2 separate regions of the Homo sapiens genome follow, and region 2 is linked to region 1. The links are contacts of gene promoters, found by promoter capture Hi-C in blood cells and fetal thymus (Javierre and others, 2016). All regions are on one chromosome and are shown on one strand. The core of a region is centred on a gene start or on the middle of the fragment in contact, and the rest is flanking DNA. Distances in the headings are between cores, read along the strand shown. Region 1 holds the start of OR5C1 (olfactory receptor family 5 subfamily C member 1). Region 2 has its middle 3.4 kb from the start of OR1J4.

Region 1 (2,700 bases), core at 182-2,681:
GAAAAGGATATCATCTCTTTCTTTTTTGTGACTGCATAGTATGCCATCATGCCCAGCTTATTTTTAACAATTTTTTTTTTTTGTAGAGATGGTGGGGGGGTCTCCCTGTGTTGCCCAGGCTGGTCTTGAACTCCTGCCTTGGCCTCCCAAAGTGCTGGGGTTACAGGCATGAGCCACTGCACCCAGCTGAATATTGAAGAATGTTTTGAATGTTGAAGAACCTGAGGCAGTGCAACAGAAACATTAGCCTGGTCTAGCGTCTGGCTCTAGGTCTAGCCCTAGATGAACCCCAAATCTTTTTCTCCCTGCTATAAGCTTTCATTTCCCTCTTTACTGTCCCTTAAACAATGACATGAGACATCCAAGCCAGAGGAACATCCCATCTTTACCGACAGTGACGGGGCCAGAAAGAGGCCCCGACCTTCCTCATCCCCTCATAGTCAGACCTACCCAGCCTCCCTGGACCAATCACTGGGACCCCTGCCCTGGACAGTGGAATCGGCTCCAGGTCTGCCTGAGGGCCTCCTTGACCTCCTTATTGCGGAGGCTGTAGATGAGTGGGTTGAGAGACGGGATGACCAGGGTATAGAACACAGAGGCCATCTTGTCAGTGTCCAGGGCATAGCTGGAGCTGGGGCGCAGGTACATGAAAATGAGTGTCCCGTACATCATGGCCACGGCTGTGAGGTGGGAACCACCGGTGGAGGCTGCTCGCCGACTGCCCTCGACCGAGCGCATGTGGATCACAGCCCCAGCGATGAAGCCATAAGACACCGTGATAGCTAACACCGTGGCTGTCTGGATGAAGCCACAGATGGCGAAGAGAAGGAGTTCATTGAGACTGGTGTCACTGCACGAGATGGCCAGCAGTGGAGGGATATCGCAGAAGAAGCTATTGATCTTCCGGGAGCGGCAGAAGCTCAGGCGGAAGGTGAGGGTTGTGTGAACAAAGGCACTCACTGCCCCACCCAGGCCTGATGCTCCCAGCAAGGCCAGGCATAGACGCTGCGACATAGCTGTTGTATAGAGAAGTGGGTTTCTGATGGCCACGTAGCGGTCATAGGCCATGGCTGCCAGCAAGCAACACTCAGTATCAGCCAGACCTGCAAAGACAAACATCTGGAGGGCACAGGCTGTGTAAGGGATGGTGGCTCGGGGCAGCAGCAGGTCCACTAGCATCTTGGGGCCGATGGCGGAGGAATAGCAGGCATCCAGCAGGGAGAGGTTGGCCAGGAAGAAGTACATAGGTGTGTGGAGCCGGGCATCCATGCGGATCAGCAGCGCCATGCCCATGTTTCCCAGCAGGCTCACCAGGTAGACAGGCAGGCAGGTCAGGAAGAGGGCCACACGCAGGTCCCAGCGATTTGTGATGCCCAGGAGGACGAATTCAGCAGGGGCAACCGCGGCCCGGGTGAGGTTCTCTGAGTTCATCCTACTGGACAGAGACTGAGAAGAGGCAAAGCAGGAGGGAGATAAGAGCAATGGCAAGGCCATGGCCAGGGAGAAGAAAGCATCCTGTACTGGGAGTTAGGTAGGCTTGGGTTTCAGCTCACCTGTGCAACAAAATTGCTGTGACCTTGAGCAAGCCACGTAACCTCTCAAAACCTGTTTCTAACTCTTAGAAGTCATTGCAGAAGCCTTTTTTTGTTTTTGAGATGGAGTTTTGCTCTTGTTACCCAGGCTGGCGTGCAAAGGTGTGATCTCAGCTCACCACAACCTCCGCCTTCTGGGTTCAAGCGATTCTCCTGCCTCAGCCTCCCAAGTAGCTGGGATTATAGGCATGTGCCACCGTGCCTGGCTAATTTTATATTTTTAGTAGAGATGGAGTTTCTCCATGTTGGTCAGGCTGGTCTCGAACTCCCAACTTCAGGTGATCCGCCCACCTCAGCCTCCTGAAGTGCTGGGATTACAGGCATGAGCCACTGTACCCGGCCCGTCTTTTTTTCTTTTTTCTTTTCTTTTCTTTTCTTTTTTTTGAGATGGAGTCTTGTTTTGTTGCCCAGGCTGGCGTGCAGTGGTGCAATCTTGGGTCACTGCAACCTCCGCCTCCTGGGTTCAAGTGACTCTCCTACCTCAGCCTCCCGAGTAGCTGGGACTACAGGTGCCCGCCACCATGCCCGGCTAATTTTTGTATTTTTTAAGTAGAGGTAGGGTTTCACCATGTTGGTGGTCAGGCTGGTCTTCAACTCCTGATCTCAAGTCTGCCTGCCCCAGCTTCCCAAAGTGTTGGGATTACAGGTGTGAGCCACCACGCCCAGCCTTTTTTTTTTTTTTTTTAAAGAGACACAAGGTCTCACTATGTTGCCCAGGCTGAACTAAAATTCTTGGGCTTAAGTGATCCTCCTCCCACCTCAGCCTCCCAAGCAGCTGGGATTATAGGCATGCTCCACCACACCCACAGGGGTCTTGTCCCTCTTATTCACTTTTGTGTCTACAGCACTGAGAGCATTGCCTAGCACATAGCTGGTGCTCAAAAAAGATTTGTTAAATGAATGAATGGGATGATATTTAGTGTCCAGCCAATGATTGAAAACTTTGTGACTCTATATGCATTCTCCTCTCCAGTTTTCCAGGTAAGAAAAGAGACAGTGGAATGAGCAGAAATAATCTTCAGATCCAACGGGCACCTGGCCATGGCTTTTGAGGTTTGCTAGTAGGGACATCTTTCCTTTGGAGTAAGATCGGAGAAAGGAGTAGCCT
Region 2 (2,700 bases), core at 50-2,549, 270 kb after region 1:
TAAATCTTTGCACCTTGGTAGGGTAATGAGCAGGGCATGCTTTGAATCAGAGGTGGGGTAATGGAGAGAGGTAGCATGATAGAAAGCTTCCCAGTGCCCCTTGCCTATTTAGGGGTTTTGCTTTCTTCTTGCTCAGAACCCATTTTTAAGAAGCAAATGGTCTTCAGTTTGTTTCCTCACTTCCTTAAGACTGTTAAACCTAATCAAAATTATTTAAGGTGCCTAGTCTTCCATTTTGTTCTTAAATATCAGTCCACAGAACCATAAATCAAGAGCAATCCTTCATTCTATCACCTACTTCCCATCAATTACCAATACCGTCTAGTCTACCTTCAAGAGTATTCTCTTCTCTATCTATATGCCATTGTCTTCATCCAGGCACACATTATCTGTTACCTGAATGTACAATGACCTTCTAATTAAGCATCTTGATTCAAGGCACTCCGATCCATTGCCAAACCATCTCACACGTTGGTTACCCGAGTAATCTTTAGAAAACACAAACATAACCTTCCCTGAGACTAATCCCAATTCCACCCCACCCCAGCCAATGGTGCCCATCACTTGCAAGGCAATGTCTAAACCTCTTAACAGGACAATCTACCCCCCTCACAATATAGTCTTTGTCTCCCTGTCTAGACTCACCTCTTGATGCTTCCTTGACTCATACACACCTATGTATAGCAACATCATTTTTCTTACATTTCCCTGAACATACCATGCAAATTCAGTGCCCTGGCCCACTCTGTCCACTCTACCTAGACTCATTTGTTCCATTATGTATCAATCCTGAGCATCCTTCAACCCCCAACTGAAGAATTACTTCCCCTGTAAAGCTTTTGCTGATATCCAGGCAGCATTAACTATACGCCCTTGTGTTACTACCATGTAAGTATTTCATCGTCTCTAAGCCTCAATTTTCCCAGCTGTAAAATATAGATAGTAACAGTGTATATATGTAGAATTATTATGAGGATTAAATGACATAATACAGGTACAGCTTTTAATACAATGCCTGACACACAGTAGCCATGCAAAATAAGCACAACTATTCGTGGTGTTATTACGTTAAGGCACTTTTTGTACTCTTGCATATTTCTTAGTTTACCTGTTGCTACACTATCAGAATATGAGCTTCTTTTGCCTGGAGGCTTTCTCTTTATCCAGATCTGTTTGACCAAGAATAGGCACACTGCCTGGCACAGACAGGTAACTTGCTGAATGGCTACTGAGGGGCACAATCTATAAAATAAAGAATGTTTTACTATTTTTAGTATTAATTCCAACATTTGTCCTTAATTACAAACAAATTAAATTGTATGTATATGTGAGTTACACACACACACACACACACACATGCACACAGTTCTTGGATTCAAATAATATAACCATCACAACATTAATGGGTTTATTTTTTCCTTCAAAAGCTAAGTGAACTTAATTCTTTAGCAAATTCCCCTTCCACTTTCCATCTGTGACAAAATAGAATAATTTTTGTTTACTCTTAAAATTTCCATGTCAGAATTGTGTGTTACATATGTGCTAAAATCAAGTGCTGGAGTTCCTGGTTCTAGGATGTTTTGATTCCTCCCCTCTGAGGAAGATTGTTCTATTGTCACACTGTGAAAGAATTAGTGTTAACTTTTGAGAAGGAAGTACACTGGTCACTTGAAACGTCCATAATTGCCAATTTTCAGAACTATTTGTTAACTTGTGAAAAAAAATCACACATTCATGGATTTCAAAAATGCAGCAAGCTTTGTTCTAAACTCAATGAGGTGCTTCACTGGAAAAGGTCACGAATCCTAGCCCTGGCATGGCTAGAGGGAAATGCACTCATATAAAGTGCACACTTCCAATGTGATTGATGTTCAGTTCTATTTGCATATTCAAATCAATACGGTGCACCCCAGTGTGCTTTGGGCTGTCCAAAACCAAGACAAACTGATCTGGGAGATGAGGTGGACTGGTAAGACAGATAGTGATGAAACACTTCCCAACAGACAAGTGAGCTTGCCATTTCTTGAGGAAAAGTCATTCAGAGAAGTGTCACCAGCCTGTGGCTAAAACATAAATGACAATATTGGTCTCTCTGGAGGATGGGCCTGACAAGACTAGGCAGATCTTCAGGGATCTGAACAACAGAACTGGGGTGCCGGCAGGGAAACTGAGTCAGGCACTTAGTTCTACAGATCACATCACTATAGCAGAGATGAGAGTGTACAGCAGGTCATGATTGTGCTGAGGCTATCAAGGCATGCTTTACCTAGACCAACAATAAACCAACAATAAAGATTCTATCCCTGTTCAGGTTTTGGCTCTGGAAAAGGTCGGGGCTAAGCCTGTAAACAAAGTGACCCTGTGCTTGCAGCAAGGAGTGGGGGTGGCACTCTTTCTTGTTCTACAAAGGACTGGATGCCAAAAGGCAGCTACATGAGCCCCCGATGAAGGATCACTCTTTGAGTCAATATCAAACAAGTGAAGAGTAAGGTCTTTTTCTGATCTGTCTTTCCTTACCTACCCACACATGAACTCACTTGTTCATTGCCCTTTAGTTATTTGGTTCTAGCTCAAGCCAGAACAGATATGTTGCTGTGTCCTAGGGCAGGTTATTGCTTTTGAATTGGGAATATAACCAACATGACAAGCTGCCCATGGTCACCATAATTCAGGAGTGTCTGCACAAGTTCTGCTTCAAAA

What was found. Contacts are between HindIII fragments. The CHiCAGO score rates a contact against its expected background, and 5 or more counts as called.
Region 2: a contact is called between a fragment that was not itself captured here and the fragment with the promoter of OR5C1 in region 1, in 5 of 17 cell types (endothelial precursors, M0 macrophages, M1 macrophages and 2 more). The highest score is 8.9, in endothelial precursors.

What each region holds. Positions count from the first base shown.
Region 1 is chr9:122,787,664-122,790,363 of GRCh38, reverse strand. It overlaps OR5C1 (olfactory receptor family 5 subfamily C member 1), which reads right to left and starts at 1,431. Exons shown (of 1, transcript NM_001001923.1): 1 at 469-1,431. The coding sequence starts at 1,431. The coding sequence ends at 469. The HindIII fragment of the contact is 2,532 bases long and covers 318-2,700 here.
Region 2 is chr9:122,521,241-122,523,940 of GRCh38, reverse strand. It overlaps a transcript of OR1J2 not described here. Among named protein-coding and RNA genes, the nearest start is that of OR1J4, 3.4 kb to the right of the region's middle. The HindIII fragment of the contact is 921 bases long and covers 839-1,759 here.